7 separate regions of the Homo sapiens genome follow, and regions 2, 3, 4, 5, 6 and 7 are each linked to region 1. Evidence: promoter capture Hi-C in human tissues and cell types (Jung and others, 2019). All regions are on one chromosome and are shown on one strand. Each heading gives the region's core, a stretch centred on a gene start or on the middle of the fragment in contact. The rest is flanking DNA. Distances are from core to core; before and after follow the strand shown. Region 1 holds the start of RBX1 (ring-box 1). Region 2 overlaps MRTFA (myocardin related transcription factor A). Region 3 overlaps MRTFA (myocardin related transcription factor A). Region 4 overlaps MRTFA (myocardin related transcription factor A). Region 5 holds the start of ZC3H7B (zinc finger CCCH-type containing 7B). Region 6 overlaps MRTFA (myocardin related transcription factor A). Region 7 overlaps RANGAP1 (Ran GTPase activating protein 1).

Region 1 (2,719 bases), core at 153-2,652:
GAACAAGGTCATCACTTAAATCTTAGATTACTTCATAACAAATTCTACAATTCACTAGAATTTTGATTCTTACCATAAAATAAACTGATGTTCTCAACTTTTATATGTTTAGACTCTTCTATTAAGATAATAATTCCAGTAAGAGTTTAACAGAATTTCATTCATTCAACTCTGGCTTCCTCAATTACAAATACTCCCAAACCTTCTTCGCTTTCAAACCCCATTCTCAGTGCCTAGTAACTTCTTTACCACTTTTCACATCACAGCTTCAAGGTGGAGGAAAAGCCCCTACTTCTATTATTTTTCAATATGGCTGCTGGCTGTAACTGAGCAGCAGTGGCCACAATGAGACACCAAAAAGCACTAGGACGGGGGATATTGTCAGTGTTTAGCCAGATGTTCTAGGAATATCTTCCCTATTTTAGAATCTCCATTTTGAACAGCTTTCATGTTAGGTGAGAATCGATACTGTTCTCCCAAACTGTGGCAAACCACTAAAAGGCATTTCATGCAAAAAGACACGTTCCATTTTTGCTTTCCCACGCTTACCAAGTCGTTCGCGACTAGTACTCAACCCTCCCTAACTGCCACAGGATTTGGGCTCGGATTTTCTTAACAAGTTCCACCATGCTTTTTATTATTATTTTGGAAGGGGGAGATTCTGGACGTGACAGAGAACCCAAGAGTGGGGTGGTTGTGTGAAAAGCCAACAGACGTCTCAGAAGAGCCAAGCATTACACTCCAGACTCTAACCAGGCAGTGTGAGGCCTCGGTTCAGCGAGGATCCCTCCAAGTGAGAGGACCCCTCCAAGTGAGAGGACCCCAAGCTTCAAAAAGGGGCGGAGCAAGATCACCAAGGGGGGTCCTCAGAGGCCTCTAATGCGGTAGGACCTCAGGTTCCAGGCTCTCGCCGCACTGCCCCATCCTCCACCGCCGCATTCGCTTCGACTCCCCATTCCACCCACCCCACCCCACCCTACCCTGTCCTTCCCCCACCTCTCAACCACTCCAGTGACAGCTCAAGCGCTTGGCTCCCGCCGCCAAGTCGCAACCCCGCGTATCTCAATAAGCAGCTCTGTGATTGGCCCCTTAGCCTCACAGCGAAACCAACACTTCCCCCAACAGTGGGCCGCCGTCACGCCGATCAACTCTAAGACCCGCCCCCCGGCTTCCTTTCGTGGTACCCGGTCCCAGGAACGCCCTGAAATGAAACCCTTTACTCCGCGCCTCGACCATCCTCGGGCCTGCCAGCCAGATCCGCGCCTCTCTAGCTTCCCTGAGGAAGGCGCTGGCGAGACCCAACCTTTTTCACTTCAAAGCGCTTCTTGCCCGCGCCGCTGTTGGTGCCGCTCGGGGTATCCACATCCATCGCTGCCGCCATTTTGGAAACACACGGTCTGTCGTCCGACCACCGCGCCTGCGCAGCAGCGCACACTTCGCTCCCCCCACCTCCCCGGCACCTCCTCCCGCACCCCACCCCTTACTGGCGCGCGAGGCGGAGGTGGGGGCGGAGCACGTGACCACGCCTCTTAAAGGGGCTGTCGCAGGTCGCCCCACCCGCGAACTGTAGGCCGGGGAGGGGGCGGTGGCCGGAGTGGGTGGGGCGGGGCCGGGCGGGGCCGGGCGGGGCCGAGGCTACGTGAGCTAGCCGGGTGGAAACGTTCGAAAGGGCTCGACGTCGCCGCCTCCTCTGGGAAGCCCCCGGCCGCACTCCGTCAGCTGGGGCGGCGGCTGCTTCCTCCGCCTGAGCCAGACCTGCGCCGCAGTCCTGTCCTGCCTGCCGGGCTCGCCGAGTCGCCGCGCGGCTCCCGGTGCTGGCGTGGGTGGGCGCCCGCGGCCTGCCCCGAAACCCAAGAGTCCTCGCTGGTCTTTCGCAGACTCTGACCCGCTTCCGAGCCAGGCCCAAGGTGCAGTCCCCGTGGGAGGGCTGGGGCCCAGGCACCGTCTGGTCTCCGATTTCTGTTCGGGAACTGCTCAGGGATTCGATGGGGAGAGAGGAGACCCCCGAAGTTCCTCCCTAAGGCCACACTGAGCAGGCCCCCAGCCCTGCCTTTACTCGCCCGCCAAGCCTGGGGGGTGGCCTCTGCGCCCACATAGTCGCAGTCCTAGGACCGCCTTTGGTCGTGGTGCACGGTTTCACCGTAACGTGTGTCAGTCCCCACTCCGCATTCCTCAGTTGTCATCTTTGTAGGGTGATTTCTCCCCGATCTGTGTCCTTTTTCCGCTGCTTGTGCTGTAGTGAAACCGACCCATCTGCAGTCGCTGTATTTCTTGAATTTTTGTGAGGCATTCTTTTTTAACTCTTGTTGCCCAGGCTGGAGTGTAATGGCGCGATTTCGGCCCACTGCAACCTCCGCCTCCAGGATTCAAGCGATTCTCCTGCCTCAGCCTCCCGAGTAGCTGAGATTACAGGCGCCCGCCACCACGCCCGGCTAATTTTTTGTATTTTTAGTAGAAACGGGGTTTCACCACGTTAGCCAGGCTGGTCCCGAACTCCTGACCTCAGGTGATCCGCCTGCCTCGGCCTCCCAAAGTGCTAGAGCCGCTTTTTTTTTTTTTCTTTTTTAATTTTTTTAAAAAATAGAGACAAGGTCTCACTATGTTGCCTAGGCTGGTCTCGAACTCCTGGGCCCAAGTGATCCTCCCACTTCGGCCTCCCAAAGTGCTGGGATCACAGGAGTGAGCCATCCCACCCGACCCAAGCACCTGTACTTTGTCA
Region 2 (2,719 bases), core at 114-2,613, 480 kb after region 1:
CATCTGCCGCCATGACCCAGACACTTCCCACTAGGCCCCGCCTCCAACATTGGGGATCATATCTCAGCATGAGGTTTGGAGGGGGCACACATTTGAACTGTTTCAATATCCTTACTAATTTCTACCTAGTTGTTCTGTCTATTGTTGAGAGTGAGGTAGATTGCGATTTTTAGAGGAGATAAACTCAAATACTCCTTATTCAAAGTTAGTTAAATAAGCACCATGCAATTTATTAAAATGTAGAAATGCTCTAGTATTAGTTGTACCTTACAAATGCCAGAAATGACATCTATTAATTTACTTTCTAGTATACTGGGGCTATTTTAATGTTTTTAGTGTGAAGGTCATTGTTAATTCTCATGAAAACTGATGCATTCAAACTTGGCTCCAACCAGACCAGTCTTTCAGTTGATTGTTTCTGGATAGCAGTTTCCCCCCTGAAGTATGACAGCCTCCAGAGTTGGAAGCCAAATATCTGAGTGGGGGAAGAGAAAAGATTTTTGAGAAGGCTTGTCTGCATTTTGGTCTCCTCAAGCATATACACCTCATTAATTTTCAAATGCAGCACTGTTTTGGCTGGCATATAATTTCTAGTCCAGGGGCATTTCCTTTACTCATCAACAAGTTTGTTTTGGAGCCTTTTCTAACATAAATATTCTGAAAAGTGGTGGCCAAGTTTATTGTCATTTGATTAGAAGTTTCATGAGAAAAAGACTTGTCAGTATTCCTGAGTTACAGCTCAGTTAATGAAATGTCCCTACAGTCTGAGAATCTTCCTTGAGAGGACTTAGCTGGGCAAAAGATTATGTGGAGGGAGGGGTCTTGTTTTTTTACTGTCCTGTTCTTCCCATACTAACCCCACCTTCCTATTCTTTTCTACTTCCTCATAATTTATACTTTATCTTCTGATTGTAGAAGTCTTGGTGGAATCAATACATGTATAAGGTAGGAACAGCTATCAACTGCATGTTTCCTTTCCAGTGAAATCCAGGACAAATGACCGGTGGAAGAGCTAGGCTTGAGAACTCCACTTCTTACTCCTTTCTTGTTCCAGTCTTGATTGACCCAGCTGTTTGATGTGTTCATTTCTTGGGTATTACCCCTCGAATCCTATCAACATCCTTCCATGGTCTTACAGGGCAGAGATATATTAAGGTCACTCCTTGGCTTTTCCCTCACCCCCAAAGTAGCTAGTTATTCAAATAGCAATTGATGCCTTTGTTTGAGGCAGGTAAAAAACTTGATTATTTCCATGGAGAGTGGAGAACCTAGGGTTTTTCACTTTATGGTTGGGTTTCTTTTCTTTTTATTCCATTCTTTTCTGGCAGGCAACTCAGTTGATTCACCACCCATCAGCTCTAAAGACATCTGTTCATCTATGTATAGGTTGTTCACACAGGCCCATTTAGAAACATGATATATTAAATTTGTGGAAATCAGTAACAGTAAAGGATTAAAGACTTATGCTTGTATACAAATAAATATTTTTGTTGAGTCTTTATTGGCTTGGGGAATGATGAGCAAATCTAAGTAGTGATATACAATGACATAGAAAGATGTCAAAATTCCTACTCTCCTAAATCTCCATAGGCTTATACTGTCTGTGAAAAATCATCATTTGTTTCAGATATTTCTCGGTGAGAGTGGATGTGTATTAAATTTATGGCCTCTGAAATTTATTCCTGATTTTGGTAACTTTGGCAGTGAACACAGAACATATGGCTCTGTGGTATTTACTGAAAGTAGGTTATTAAATAATTGCTTCTAAAATGAATAATCCTAAGGTCTGGAAATGTAAAGTCATTTTGTTTAGAATGCTTAGAATTAAGAGGAATTAATAGACCAAGGAAACAAAAACTCCATATAAACAGCTGTTTCTTTGTAGTTGGAAGTCTTAGACGATGGATCATTTTTAGTCTACACAGATAAACATAAAGCAGATAAATTATAAAACAAAATGAATTATAGGTTGACTGCCATAATTCTGAGTTTACTGCTTCAGTCTTTTTTCCCCCTCTTTGTAACCATTGAAGGTTATGCAGTGCATAAAACAACACATACCTAAATCAGGTTATTGCAGTACCCAAGATGATACTGATACAGGATAATTCTGTTATTTGAGTGGGGAACTTTGTCAGATGTCAGATAAGCACAGAGTTCAAAGTTAACTCCTGGGAGGGACAAGATGGAATTTTCAGATAACTGAACTTTAATTTCATTCAGTTTTAGAGATGGAAAAGGTTTATTAGATAAGCTTTCGTCTTTGTACTGGAGCTGTATATGTGTGTGTATAAATATATATATATATATACATGCATAATATATACACGGTTGTGTATATGTGTATGTATATATAAGCTGAATATGCCTTTACTGTAATCTCCACAGAAAACTTGAATCAAATTTATTAAATGTGTTAGCTTTCATAAATTTAAATTTTTGCGTTCATGAAGCAAGAAGTTTTTCAATCAAGAAGTTTATGTAATATCCCTATGGCCCTATTCATATATGGTTTACTTAAGAAGGCTAGTGGTTAATATTTCAAAATTATTCTTGGATTAATAGCCATTGCTTATGTTATTGTTTCTTTGAAGTGTTCAGACTTACTGAATTGCATTGTTCCCTTATTCTCTGAAATAAAATTAATTTGTCACATTTAATAATTTTCTAATAGTTCATCTTACACTGGGCTTTAGAAACACTCTAAAAGATGACAATT
Region 3 (2,719 bases), core at 108-2,607, 470 kb after region 1:
CCACAGGCAAGTGCCACCATGCCCAGCTAATTTTTTTGTAGAGATGGGGTTTTGCCGTGTTGCCCAGGCTGTCTGAGATCAAGTGATCCACCAGCCTCAGCCTCCCAAAGTGCTAGGATTAGAGGCGTGAGCCACACTGCACCCGGCTCCCTGTACCCTTCTTAATACGAACTTAAAGTGTTCGTAATGAGCCAACCGTTGTAAGGTTTTTGGACTTCTTATAAAAAGCCAGATTCAAATACAGTTGTTTAGACAAAAATGTCTTAGTATGGAAATATGCATGAGCATATTTTCCTGCCAGATTTGTGGTTAGAAAAGAAGCAAATTTTCCTCCTAGAGTGGAAGGAAGAAAAAAACAATAAAGAAAAGAAGCAAGCTATTCAAGAAGAAGGTAGTATAGTGGTAGCTTTTTGTTGAGACCAGTCACCAGCCTGGAACTTTCTTTAGTAAGTAATTAGATTCATTGAATAAAATGTTCAACCGAGCTTGGTGCAATCTCATAGTTACAAAACACTCTTGCCAAAGAAAGTTGCAGTCTTAATATCCGTAATCGAATCATTTCCTGTTCGGGCTTGCAGGTGGGGAACAATCTGAAACTGCAGTCCTATAAGATTAGTTATAAAGAAAACGCCTTGGTGGGAGAAGCCTTGATGATAATATTGAATAGACAGCCTAACAAGTGTGGGGATGAAGAAGGTACACCAGGATCCTGGGACTAACCAGATTTAAAGGCGTAAGTCGGGATCTGCAAGCCCACTCCCTTGGGGTGATCTGAATAAAGCTACTCTAGGGCATTCAGGTATGTGCTGAACACACTCGGGCAGTGGGCCAGGCAGATGGCTCATTCCTGCACCGACCTTCGAAGGCCTGCCAGGTTGAAAAGCTACCACTGGGGAGGCATGGCTGTGCTCTAGCAAGAACAAGAACATGCATTTCATGTAGCATTTGGTCCTTCCCAGTTGAGGGAGATGCCTTAGGACTACGTTAATCTCTGAGTCCACTTAGGGCTTGGGATGTATTCTCACAGCCCTTGCTCCTCCTCCATCTTAGAGTTTATTTTTACCATCATTGCAACCTCCTCTAAGTGATTCTTCCAGACCCATAGTTAGCCTTTGAGATTCCGCAGTTCTCCTCCCTACTCTTCCCCACCATGTCTTCATTGAGACCCACATTTTTAGGTTTGACTAAACCTTCCATCTAGGAATAGGTAGGAGGCTAAGCAATTTAGGCCGCATTCATGTATCCTGTCATTTGCTTCACTGCATCTTCTTGGCTGTGGTAAAGGAAATTTAGGTGTGATACACTCCTTAGGCTTCCCTGCCCTGCCCCCCTTTCCTTTTGCCCTTTTGATTTTTTTTAATCTGATACTCAGGCTCTCCTCCCGCCTTCACACACCATTGGAGTCTCCTAAGCTATTTCTGTCAGTTTAATGATCCCCAGCTGTTGCCACAGTTCAGGCTGTTTTCATGCCCAGGAGAAGCATCGAAGAGGCAGAGGAAAAGGGGTCTTGTTTGTTGTCTGTCCCACAGTGTGTAAAACAAATCAAATTCATTTTTCTGAAACTACTAGTGAGATTCCTTAGGGATGGATGTTAATACTGGGATGATTTGAAAATCAGGAGGAGGAAAAGTACATGGTAGTATCAGGGACATTTTTAAAATAAGCATTCTGCTGATAGGTGTGGCACTCTGCATCACTCAGAATTATGCTAGAAAATTGAGGTATGTGGTATGGAGGAATTATTTGATCACTTTGCATTCTTTTAGATTTTTTTTTTTTTTTTGAGACGGAGTCTCACTATGTTGCCAGGCTGGAGTGCAGTGGCGCAATCTCCTCTCACTGCAACCTCCTACTCCCAGATGCAAGCGATTCTCCTGCCTCAGCCTCCTGAGTAGCTGGGATTTACAGGCACGTGCCACCATGCCCAGCTAATCTTTGTATTTTTAGTAGAGACGGGGTTTCACCATGTTGGCCAGGATGGTCTCGATCTCCTGACCTCGTGATCCGCCTGCGTCGGCCTCCTAAAGTGCTGGGATTACAGGTGTGAGCCACCGCACCCGCCTCTACTTTTAGATTTTGAGCTGGAATTTCCCTTCTACTCATGTATGTTGAAGGAGTATCTAAATTAAAAGAATTCTGTAATAGGAAATATATGGAAATTGTTTCTGAAGTATCCAGAAAAGGCATTTATTTAAGTTCTGCTTTAACTTAATGCAGGTTTGTTTCGTAAAATTTTGTGCAAAACCTGCAGTAGTGAAATGTTCCATTTGCAAATTCAACCACACAGACTTCAGGAAATACAAAGTTGCGGTACTTATAACATGAACTCTTCTACAGTTACACCTACCTTTGCTTTTGAAAAGTCTTTACTAAACCTGGGGGATGTGGAGTGGGAAAATCCTACAGTAGTTAAATGGGCTCCTAATGTATTATAATGATCTGGCTTCTCCTTTATGTGTTTGATCTTGAGAATTTTAACCCATTCCAACAAGTTTAGCTGATTTGTAGCTTTTACGCTCAGACACTACATGAAGTTTAATTTTATGGATTTCTTTCTTCCACAGAGAAGACAAATTTTGCTGCAGACTTTATCAAATTTTATTTTTAAATTTTTATCTTTTTGAGTCAAATAGCTAAAATTTTACATCATTTAGGACTGAAGAGTGAGAATTTACTGTTTTTTTTTTCTTTATCCATAGAAAACTTGATACATAAACAT
Region 4 (2,719 bases), core at 61-2,560, 430 kb after region 1:
CTGTAACCTCTGTCTCCCGGGCTCAAGCAAACCTCCCCGACAGCTTCCTGTCTAACCCAGGAGTTCAAGACCAGCCTGGGCAACATAGCAAGATTCCATCTTTACAAAAAATTTTTTAAAATAATTTTTAAAATGTGGAATAATGTTTACCACTTATCTCTATAATTCTAGAAAAGTGGCTTTGAGGCTATACACCAGAATATGAATAACTTTCTCTGAGTAGTGAGATTTCATAGGGGACATTATATTTTTTCCATCTTTTGGGTTTTCCTGTATCTTTCTGATTTTCTATGATGAGCATACATTTCTTTTGTATTCCAATAAAGCTTATGTTGGCTGGGCACAGTGACTCACCCCTGTAATCCCAGCATTTTGGGAGGCTGGGGCGGGCGGATCACTTGAGGCCAGGAGTTTAAGACCAGCCTGGCCAGTATGGCGAAACCCCATCTCTACTAAAAATACAAAAAAATTAGCTGGGTGTGGTGGCCCATGCTTGTAATCCCAGCTACTTGGGAGGCCGAGGCAGGAGAATTGCTTGAACCTGGGAGGTGGAGGTTGCAGTGAGCCGAGATTGCGACATTGCACTCCAGCATGGGTGACAAGAGCAAAACTCTGTCTCAAAAACATACACACGCACACGCACAAAAATAAATAAAGCTTATGTTAAATTGTGTGTATGCACATACACAGGTAGGTACAGTTAAAAGAGGAAGAAGATGGATGGAAGCATAATGATTAGGAGATAGAGCTGTTAATTTGGAACCTCTGCAGTCAAAGTGCTCCCTCCACTGACCAAATACTGCATGATAAGGAGGCACTCCATCTCATTAAACTGTTCCCTCTGACCAGTTGAGTTTGTATAAATCTCTTTTACATTTTTGCCTTTGTTTCTATTTTGTAAGACTTATTGAAATTTATCTTTGCAGTGTTTGTGTTAGGCCATGTTCTTGGCAGAGCTGTGGCTCCTTCCTGTGTACACTCATTTACTCTCAATTTGCTGAACCTCTCAGAAGTTTTCTGTCAAAAAACAACACGTTAAATTTTTTGTTTGCTTTTGTTGGGTAAGAATAATCTGATTTGTTGTAGGCATAAAATGGTGGTGTTAGTATACAATGTTTTAATTATTTTTTTGTGTAGCTTTTATTTTTGAGCCAGGGTCTCACTCTGCTGCCCAGGGTGGAGTGCAGTGGCATAATCACAGCTCATTGCAGGCTGGACCTCCCCAGGCTCAGGTGGTCCTCCCACCACAGATTCCTGAGTAGCTGGGACTGCAAGTGCACATCACTAGGCCCAGCTAAAAAAATTTTTTTTAATGAGAGACAGGTTTTCACTATGTTGCCCAGCCTGTTTTAATTTTTTGAAAGTGCATTTCTGCAATATATTTTGCTCATTGACTATAGGGTGTGAAAATTGTCCTTAACAATTCATGATGCTGTATCTTTCTGATTTTCTGTTTTTCTGTTTTTCCTTGCAAATAGGATCTTGAGGAACTAAAATATTAATTAAACTTGATTTTTTGAACTGTTTTCTTAGTATATTCTCTTGGGAATCGATAAGATTATATTCCTCAAATCAGTGCCATAAGACTAATTTATTTGGTTATGTAAAGTACTGAAAACTTAGGTATCAACATTAATTAGGTTACTCAAACAGATACTATGTCCGTATTCTTCTAATACCTTGCTACTCAAAGTATGTTCCAAGGTCTGGCAGCCTTTGTATCACCTGGAAGCCTATTAGGAATGCAGAATCTCAGACGCCACCTCAGACCTGCGGAATCACAATCTGTTTTAAAAAGATTATTTGCCGGGTGCAGTGGCTCACAGCTGTAATCCCAACACTTTGGGAGGCCAGGGTGGGCAGATTGCTTGATGTCAGAAGTTTGAGACCAGCCTAGGCAACATGGTGAAACCTCATCTCTACAAAAAATGCAAAAATTAGGCAGGCATGGTGATACACACCTGTAGTCCCAGATACTTAGGGGGCTGAAGTGGGAGGCTCACTTGAATTTGGGAGGTCAAGGCTGCAGTGAACCGTGTTTGCACCACGGTATTCCAGCTGGGCCACAAAGTGAGACCCTATCTCAAAAAAAAGATTGTCACATGCATATTAAAGTTGAGAAGTTCAGTTCCAAAAGATATTTTATTTTTATTTCCCAAGATGCTATGAGATGTGTTGGATTTATATGTGGGATTTATATGATGTCTAATTAGTATGGAAGAATAGGGTAAAACAGGAAACAAAAAAGAAAACCTGCTCCTGGTATAGTTCTCTGTGTTAGATAAACGTTCACAATTTGACAACTTTTTTTTTTTTTTGCCATTTTTCTTCATTTTTCAAAGAAAGAACAAATAGGCTTATTTTTGGCATTCTAGAATGTTTAACTGGGAAGGATCTTAGACATGACCTGATAACAAACCTTGGTTTTACAGGTGAACAGACGGGGGGCTAAGAATGTTAAGTGACTTACCCAAGATCATATAGCGTGGACTCCCTGTGACCTGATTTTCAAACTACTGATCTTTGGAACTCCTGTGCTACCCCTCTGTGTTGCTGAAGGCCATCTATTCTTAGTTGGTTCTATTGATGTTGGTTGAAACCATCCCGAACATACCTGTGGCTAGGCACAGTGGCTCACGTCTGTAATCCCAGCACTTTGGGAGGTTGAGGGGGGCGGATCACTTCAGGTCAGGAGTTGGAGTCCAGCCTGGCCAACATG
Region 5 (2,719 bases), core at 117-2,616, 350 kb before region 1:
AAACCGCTGATCACCAGCTCCCCACTCAGGCCCAGCCCCCTTTTAGAGCCCCCAGACTCCCCACGCAGGGCCCTAGCCCCCTAGTCTTCCCCGTCAATGCCCTGTTGGCAATACAGCCATCAGGTTCTATCAGAGTGAGCTGTTTTTATATGATTATTTTCCCCCCTGGGAAGACGGCTTTGTCTGTGAAAGTCCCCCCAACCAGGCGCCTTATAAACGCCTAAAACAGACAGAGTTGAGGAGAAAGGAGGGGAAAGGAGGAGGGAGCAAACCCGGAGGGGGGCCCTGAGGTTCGCAGCGGGCAGGATGGGGGTATGAGGCCGGAGTCGGCGGCTCCCAGGCCCCCAGCCCCGTCAGGGCGCCCCCGTCCCCAGGCGCCAGAGCCGGGGTCCGCAGCCCCCTAGCACTCCCTGGACGGCCGCGGGCCTCCCACAGGCCTCGAAGTCCAGAGACTGATCCTGCGACCGGAAACGCCCCCCTGCCCAGCAGGCCCAGACCGCGCCCCCCTTTCCTGCCGCCCCCTTCCCGCGGGCCCGGCTGCAGGCCCCGGATCCCCGGGCTCGCGTGGCCGCCGCAGCCGAAAGGGGCGGCCCGTCGGGCGGCCCCGCTCCCCGGCCCTCGCCGCGGCCCCTCCAACTCCGGGTGCTGCGGGGCCAAGGACAACACAAAAGGAAGGGGGGCCCTGCCAGCGACGCCCCTGCCAGCCCCCGAGACCCCCTGCGCGGGGTCGGCAAAGCATCTGGACACCCCAGAAGCTCCGGACGCCGAAGAGAGAGGCCCCACGAAAATTTCAAGACACCTCCTGGGGGCTGCAGGGGCGGCCAAGTCTCCCCAGCGCCAGGTGCCCCCGGCCACACGGTAACTTTTAAACTTTGGGGCAGGGCACGGGGACCGGGATCCCCAAAAAGGAGCAAATGGGGTTTTAGAGACGATTTATTTTTTGCAAAATCCCACTTTCCAGGTGGCCCGGCGCGCGGCCCCGGCCTGGAAAGGGCTCTCTTCGCCTCTTCCCCAGCCCTGCCCGGCCCGGGCGTCCCCGAACCCTCGCGCGCGGGCGGCTCCGGACGCAGTGTCCCCGGCCTCTGCCCCGCGGGGCTCGGGCCGCGCCAAGCACTCACCTCCGCCGGGCTGCGCTCCCCGCGGGCCTGCGCCGAGCCCGATAAATGGTATGCTATGACTAGAGGTATGATTACGTTATTATTATTAGTAATAATAAGAGTAAATGCTATTTAATTACGGGCGGCCGCATCCTGCTCCCGGCGCCGCCGCCCCGGCAGCTCCGTCCATGTGGCTCTGGAGCGCTTTACTTTCATTTCCAGCCCCTCGGCTGGCCGCTCGCGGCAGCACCCGCTGGAGGCACTGTCTCCCTGCAGCTCTTCCTCCTCGGGTCCTAGAGAGCTCGGCTCCCGTCGCCTCGCCGCGCCCGGGGTGGGCGGCGCGGGCTGCGCACCTGGGGAGAAGGGCGGGGGGCGTGGGGGCGAGTCGGGGAAGCCCCATTCCCCGTCGAAAGCTCATGCCTGGAATTCACCTTTATTTTCTTTAAAAGTGTCCTGCCTTTTAGGGGGGTTTCTTTTGGCAGTTCTGCATTTCTGGGCTGATGCTGCTCAAACCCAGCGCCTCCGCCCTTCCCCATCTGTGTCAAAAGTCCCCCCGCCCCCCTTCTCCGGCTTCCAGGTGCTTTCATGGAAGGCTGCCCAAAACCCTGGTTGCGTTGTGCCCTTCTCATAGATGGGAACCGGAGACACATAGAAGAATCAGGACCTCACTTGGCTGGAGTTTTATGTATAGGATGTTAAAAAAAATATTGAATGACACTTGTTAAAGACTACAAGGCCGACTTTATTGGCATCATGATGGGTGTAGGGACCACTGCAGTGGGTTTTGCGGTCAGGGAGAGTATTTGGGCTCAATTCAGAAATCAGCATGGGCAACTGGGAATTTATGAGGAAGGAGAAAGGATCCACTGATTGAGCGCCAGTGCATAGGAAACTGCATCAGAGATGAGAGGATTCTCGCTTAAACCCATCTAACAAGATTCTTGCTGAAGGCAGGGCAAGGTGATCAGACATCACCTGGGGAATGGTGGAAAATGAGGAACCTGATTAGATATTGACAATCAGGGCTGGGTGCAGTGGCTCACGCCTGTAATCTCAGCACTTTGGGAGGCCAAGACGGGTGGATCACCTGAGGTCAGGAGTTCAAGACCAGACTAGCCAACGTGGTGAAACCCCATCTCTACAAAAATACAAAAATTAGCCAGGCGTGGTGGTGGGTGCCTGTAATCCCAGCTACTCAGGAGGCTGAGGCAGGAGAATCACTTGAACCCCAGAGGTGGAGGTTGCAGTGAGCCAAGATCATGCCATTGCACTCCAGCCTGGGCAACAAGAGCAAAACTGTCTCCAGAAATATATGTGTGTGTGTGTGTGTGTGTGTGTGTGTGTGTGTGTGTGTGTGTGTGTGTGAGTTCCCAATACCCCCTAGGCAATTTACAATGAAACACCCTTGACAACTTATCACATTTACCACCATGGTTATTATCACTCTCATTTCATCGATGAGGATGCTGAGGCCAGTTGGATTGCTGCATTTTGCCTCAAGTGAACTAGATGGCAAATGGTCTGGTGATTCCACCACCCCAGGTTGCTGGTGAAATAATGAACACATATTCTTGAAGAGGACTGTCCATCATTCAAGGGGGATTCAGCAGGACACCAGCCTC
Region 6 (2,719 bases), core at 139-2,638, 320 kb after region 1:
CCAGCTAATTTTTGTATTTTTTAGTAGAGGCAGGGTTTCACTATATGTTGGCCAGGCTGGTCTCAAACTCCTGACCTCAGGTGATCCGCCTGCCTTGGCCTCCCAAAGCGCTAGGATGATAAGCATGAGCCACCGTGCTTGGCCAGTCCTGTACCTTTTAAATGCCCTCCAGATTAACCTTGTCCCTCAAACTCAGCCACACAGGTTCTCATTCTAGGTATTAGTGTGGGCCCTAGTTCCACCTCTAAGCTCTTGTGAAGCATATGGTGGGATCATAGCTCACTGCAACCTCAAAACTCCTTGTCTTAAGTGATCCTTCTGCCTCTGCCTCCTGAGTAGCTAGGACAACAGCATGTACCACCATGCTTGGCTAATTTTTTTTTTTTTTTTTTTTTTTTTGAGATGGAATCTTGCTCTGTCACCCAGGCTGGAGTGCAGTGGCGGGATCTCGGCTCACTGCAAGCTCCGCATCCTGGGTTCAAGCAATTCTCCTGCCTTAGCCTCCCGAGTAGCTGGGATTATAGGCACCCACCACCACGCCCAGCTAATTTTTTGTATATGTATATATTTTTTTTAGTAGGGACGGAGTTTCACTATGTTGGCCAGGCTGATCTCGAACTCCTGACCTCAGGCGATCCATCCGCCTCGGCCTCCCAAAGTATTGGGATTACAGCGTGAGCCACTGTGCCTGGCCTGCTTGGGTAATTTTTTTTTTTTTAATTATGTTTTGAGACGGAGTCTTGCTCTGTTGACCAGGCTGGAGTGCAGTGGTTCGATCTTGGCTCACTGCAACCTCCGTCTCCCGGGTTCAAGCCATTCTCCTGCCTCAGCCTCCCAGGTAGCTGGGACTACAGGCATGTGCCACCATGCCCGGCTAATTTTTTTGTATTTTTGGTAGAGACGGGGTTTCACCATATTGGACAGGCTGGTCTCAAACTCCTGACTTCAAGTGATCCGCCCGCCTCGGCCTCCCAAAGTGCTGGGATTACACATGTGAGCCACCGCGCCCAGCCTCTGCTTGGCTAATTTAAAAAATTTTTTTTGTAGAGAAGAGAAGAGAGTCTTGCTATATTGCCTAGACTAGTCTCAAATTCCTGGCCACAGCAATCCTCCTGCCTTGGCCTCCCGAAGTGTTGGGATTACAGGTGTGAGCCACCGTGCCTGGCCAAAATTCTTAAAAATACTGAATCCATATCACATGTATGAGGAGAGAAGATAATTACACTCTGTGTCACTGCAGGTGTTAAAGCAGAAATTGGGTGACCTGTCAGGGTGCATTGGGTGGAACTAATTGCTCAAGTTGCCTTCAGTTCTGTGGTTCATGACTCAAGTCCAGTTCTCTCATTGTTTAGTGGGAGGAGGCACTGTGAAATTAAATGATTTGAGTTCCACAACAGTCCAGGGGCTGAGCCCAGGCCAGTTCCTCACACAGTATTTAAGGCCGGCTCATATAGCAGTAATAGAAGATCTGTAGAATCCTTGGAAGAAAGAGCGTTGTGAAAATGTCTTTTTTTTTTTTTACTTCCACATTTTTACTTCTGTGGTATGTTTGGTTCATTTGCTCCCCACTCATTCTTATTGATATGCATTTAGAAATCATTCTCTGTGTAAATGAGAGCTTGTAATGAGTAATTTGGCTAGTTCATTTTGAGATCTGGAGTGTGTCCTCTGTTACTGAATTTCTAGATAGGTAGGCTATTTACAGGTCTTTGTCCTCTAAAATTATGAGTGGAAATTATGGGTGATTCTGGTTTTTGAAAATAATTGTTCTTGTATTAAAATTTAAAGCATAATGGGCATAATTCAAACAAAGTTCTGAACTTCATAATATGACAGAGTAAAATATCCAGTGAGGTAACATGTCCATGTCAAGTTTTAGGGCACAGCAGATCTGGGTACTGACAGTTACCAGGTATGTGACTGTAGGCTTACTCCTTAACCTTCCTGTGATTCAGCTTCTTCATCTGTAAACTAGAGTTAATAATCCTTACAACATGAGGTCGTTATAAGGATTATGAAGAAATGTAAAGAGGGAAGTAATAGGGGCATCTACTTTATAGTAGACATTGTGCTACCTTATTAATCCTCATATGAACTCTGAAATAAGTGGTAGTAGCAGCATTTTGCAGATGAGCAAAGAGAAGCTTCTAGAGGAACTTCTAGATAACAGGATTTTTGTTGTTGTTTTGCTTTTTTGTTTTTTTTAGACAGAGTCTTGCTTTGTCTTCCAGACATGAGTGTAGTGGCAGGGTCATAGCTCACTGTGTCCTCAAACTCCTGTAACCTCAAACTGCTGAAGCAGTTCTCCTGCATAACTAGGACTATAGGCGTGTGCCATCATGCCCGGCTAAATTTTTTTGTGCAGGCGGGGTGTCACAGTGTTCCCCAGGCTGATCTTGAACTCTTGCCCTCACGCTTTGACCTCCTAAACTGTTGAGATGACAGGCATGAGCCGCTGTGCCTGGCCAGGATTTGAATCCAGATCTGTTTTTGAATTAAATAATTCTGGCTTCCTACCATGATGTATATGAAGTTCCTAACTTTGCCTCTAGTAAATGTCTTTTCGTGTTCAGTGTCTTTTGCATAGTTAGCGAAAATGTCAGTTATAGTGAGAACTCTTTGTAGTAGTAATCAAGATGTTATAGCTCAGAAAATATTCTGTGCGGTATTCATTATATGTATCTGGTTGCCATTCCTGAGGTGGAAAACTATAATAGTA
Region 7 (2,719 bases), core at 97-2,596, 310 kb before region 1:
GTGAGGGAATGTAGCTCTCCCCAGCCCAGGAGGTTTCCAGGAGAGCTTCAAATCACCCTGTCAAAGCTGATCCTGGCCGTGGCTTAGAGATGGCCACCTCCATCTGCCAGTCACCACCAGAAACCCTGGAGGCATTTGTGGTTCCTCCCTCCCTCCTCCTGCACGAACAGGGAACCAACAGCTTCTGCATGTCCCCTGCTCCATGAACAGGCAGCTCCTCTCCCACACTTGTCACACCGGCTGGCAGGTCCCCTCTGTTGCCAGTGTCGCTGCCTCACACTCCTGGGTGGGCACTCCAGCCCCCCTTTCTGTGCATCTGCTCACCTCAGGTCTGGGGATATTAATTCCATATCCCTCAGCCACCTCAAAGCCCACTGCTCTCAGGCTGAGGCTCACAGTCCTTGGCCTGGCATTCAAGGCTCTTGCCTGATCTGACCCCTCACTTCCCTTCCACCCAAAGCCCATGCCACGGCTTCTTCTGGAGCCTACCCACAGCTTTCCTCCAGGCTCACAGCCTGCTGCTTCATGCTTATGTCTCTCTGCTCCTGTTTTTTCAGCTGCCTGGAGTCTTTTCATGTTGACTAGCTGATTCTCATCCAGACTAAGTCCAAATGCCACCTCTTACAAGGAGCCTTCCCGGGCCACTCCAGGCATACGCATCCCCCACTCTCCAGCTGTTAGGAGCCCTTTGCAGGGTTTCCAGTCTTAAGAATACTGAAATGGTTTGTGTCTGTGTTGGTTCTGCACCAGCCGGGGTGTCCTTGGAAGGCAGAGCTGGGCCTGGCACAGAAGCAGCACCCAGCACAGAAGCTGGGTGTCTATGAAACTGACACGAGCTTCCTCTGTGCCCAGATCTCACTAGGGGAAGGACTCATCACAGCTGGGGCTCAGCTGGTGGAGCTGGACTTAAGCGACAACGCATTCGGGCCCGACGGTGTGCAAGGCTTCGAGGCCCTGCTCAAGAGCTCAGCCTGCTTCACCCTGCAGGAACTCAAGCTCAACAACTGTGGCATGGGCATTGGCGGCGGCAAGGTGGGTGTGGCAGCCCCCTCCCCGCAGAGTCCCCTGGTCCATCCACATCCGTCTGACATATGTGCCCTGGCCCTTGGCCACCACCATCTGGGATGGTCAGCCGTTGTTTTCAAAAGAGAAAGGCCTCAAAGGCAACAGCCTGTGGCCGGAGGGTAGAGGCGTCCATGAGGGTGGGGTTGCCAAGCAACCATCCCCAGTTCTTGGGTTGGCTTGGCAACGCAGAGGGAGTGCCACTGCATACCTGCTCCAGCCTGCTGGCTCTGCAAAACTCAGGGCTTGGGGCATCCCTATACTCACTGTACCCGCAGAGCAGCTGGTAGAGCCTGGCACATAGGCAGAGGGAGTCTGAAAAGAGGAGCATATGCTCAGGGGGGGCACCGTCACAGCTCACCTTTATTCCTAGACAGGGCCTTGCCCAGGGAGGTGTCCTCAGGCAAGGTCAGTGTAGAGCTTCACGTTGGGCTGGTCAGTGTAGAGTGGAGCTTCTTTGCTTCCCAGAACCTGCATCAAGGGCGGCCTGCCGTATTATTCTCTTCCAACTCCATCCCAGTGCCTTTAGACCCAGGGTTGGAGGACACTGAGTGCCAGGCTGCAACCCCTACACACACTTTCTAACCAAAGGGAGAAAAGGGCTGGGGACACAGAAGTAACAGCAGTTGGGGATATCTTATTTGAATATGCAATACCTTAACTTTTCCCACCCACACTGAAAGGTGGCTGATGCCATCCCAGTTTTTCCACATGACTCAGCATAGGCTTAGAGAGATGGGGTGGAGTGGATCACATAGCTAGTGCTGTGAGGCCCATGGAGCCCCAGGCTGAGGAGCTGGAGTGGCCTCCCCTGCAGAGGGTGCCTGTGTCCCTCGGCCTGACGTGAGGGTGAGCAGGGGCAGGCTCTGTGCCTGCCTTAGCCAGCCCTCCCCCAAGTCCACTTGGGCAATAAGCTATCCCTGTGTTAAGATGTAAAAATGGGCCGGGCACGGTGGTGCAGTGGCTCATGCCTGTAATCCCAGCACTTTGGGAGGCCGAGTCGGGCAGATCACCTGAGGTCAGGCGTTCGAGACCAGCCTGGCCAACATGGTGAAACCCCATCTCTACTAAAAATACAAAAATTAGCTGGGTGTGGTGGCAGGTGCCTGTAGTCCCAGCTATTCGGGAGGCTGAGGCAGGAGAATTGCTCGAACCCGGGAGGTGGAGGTTGCAGTGAGCCGAGATGGCGCCACTGCACTCCAGCCTGGGCAACAAGAGCAAAACTCCGTCTCAAAAAAACAAACAAACAAACAAACAAACAGAAACATATAAAAACGTTTGCGTCAGCACAGAAAGCAGGCGTGGCCCAACCTAGAGTGAGTGGCATACGCTGGGAGAGCCAGAGACTCTATTCTAGCAAAATGCTTCGGTTTTCCTTCCATTACTTCCCTTCTCCTGCCCAGCAGTGCCTGGAAACTGAGGCTCAGGGAGCTTTCCTACTGGCCAGGAGTTGTCTGGCCTGTCCTATACTTGTAATGGGGTGAGTTGGGGAATGAGTTTTGGACCCAGGACCAGAGGGCCTCCTGGGCAGACAGGCCTACCCTGGAGTTTGATTGATGGTTCTCTGTGCCTCCCTGACCACTGATTTGATTAGGTCTCTGGGTCTCGGCCTTGCTGACCTATGCCTCTTGGGAGCTCAGACGCCATGGTCTGGGTG

The links. The method cuts DNA at HindIII sites, captures the fragments that hold promoters and counts their contacts. A contact is called where the count stands out against the background at its distance.
Region 2: a contact is called between a fragment that was not itself captured here and the fragment with the promoter of RBX1 in region 1, in 2 of the 25 tissues and cell types used here (bladder and liver).
Region 3: a fragment that was not itself captured here is called in contact with the fragment with the promoter of RBX1 in region 1 in 1 of the 25 tissues and cell types used here (lymphoblastoid cells).
Region 4: a fragment that was not itself captured here is called in contact with the fragment with the promoter of RBX1 in region 1 in 2 of the 25 tissues and cell types used here (adrenal gland and dorsolateral prefrontal cortex).
Region 5: the fragment with the promoter of ZC3H7B here is called in contact with the fragment with the promoter of RBX1 in region 1 in 1 of the 25 tissues and cell types used here (dorsolateral prefrontal cortex).
Region 6: a fragment that was not itself captured here is called in contact with the fragment with the promoter of RBX1 in region 1 in 3 of the 25 tissues and cell types used here (dorsolateral prefrontal cortex, hippocampus and lymphoblastoid cells).
Region 7: a contact is called between a fragment that was not itself captured here and the fragment with the promoter of RBX1 in region 1, in 1 of the 25 tissues and cell types used here (spleen).

What each region holds. Positions count from the first base shown.
Region 1 is chr22:40,950,061-40,952,779 of GRCh38, reverse strand. It overlaps RBX1 (ring-box 1), which reads right to left and starts at 1,402. Exons shown (of 5, transcript NM_014248.4): 1 at 1,304-1,402. The coding sequence starts at 1,381. RefSeq lists enhancers at 82-670, 1,126-1,335, 1,850-2,440 and a silencer at 1,386-1,965. The HindIII fragment of the contact is 18,244 bases long and covers 1-2,719 here.
Region 2 is chr22:40,466,562-40,469,280 of GRCh38, reverse strand. All of the region lies in intron 3 of MRTFA (myocardin related transcription factor A), which reads left to right. Among named protein-coding and RNA genes, the nearest start is that of MRTFA-AS1, 54 kb to the left of the region's middle. The HindIII fragment of the contact is 5,159 bases long and covers 1-2,719 here.
Region 3 is chr22:40,484,135-40,486,853 of GRCh38, reverse strand. The region is part of intron 3 of MRTFA (myocardin related transcription factor A); the gene reads left to right. Among named protein-coding and RNA genes, the nearest start is that of MRTFA-AS1, 36 kb to the left of the region's middle. The HindIII fragment of the contact is 4,610 bases long and covers 1-2,719 here.
Region 4 is chr22:40,522,725-40,525,443 of GRCh38, reverse strand. All of the region lies in intron 3 of MRTFA (myocardin related transcription factor A), which reads left to right. MRTFA-AS1 (MRTFA antisense RNA 1) reads right to left here. Exons shown (of 4, transcript NR_109965.1): 1 at 2,471-2,719; 2 at 2,004-2,078; 3 at 1,726-1,919. Among named protein-coding and RNA genes, the nearest start is that of MRTFA-AS1, 2.3 kb to the right of the region's middle. The HindIII fragment of the contact is 3,575 bases long and covers 1-2,719 here.
Region 5 is chr22:41,300,172-41,302,890 of GRCh38, reverse strand. ZC3H7B (zinc finger CCCH-type containing 7B) reads right to left here and starts at 1,366. Exons shown (of 23, transcript NM_017590.6): 1 at 1,119-1,366. It also overlaps a transcript of RANGAP1 not described here. RefSeq lists silencers at 990-1,059, 1,340-1,679 and an enhancer at 757-1,258. The HindIII fragment of the contact is 5,663 bases long and covers 1-2,719 here.
Region 6 is chr22:40,627,456-40,630,174 of GRCh38, reverse strand. The region is part of intron 1 of MRTFA (myocardin related transcription factor A); the gene reads left to right. Among named protein-coding and RNA genes, the nearest start is that of MRTFA, 7.9 kb to the left of the region's middle. The HindIII fragment of the contact is 9,289 bases long and covers 1-2,719 here.
Region 7 is chr22:41,262,977-41,265,695 of GRCh38, reverse strand. RANGAP1 (Ran GTPase activating protein 1) reads left to right here. Exons shown (of 16, transcript NM_002883.4): 5 at 853-1,032. Among named protein-coding and RNA genes, the nearest start is that of MIR6889, 11 kb to the right of the region's middle. RefSeq lists an enhancer at 701-1,576. The HindIII fragment of the contact is 7,310 bases long and covers 1-2,719 here.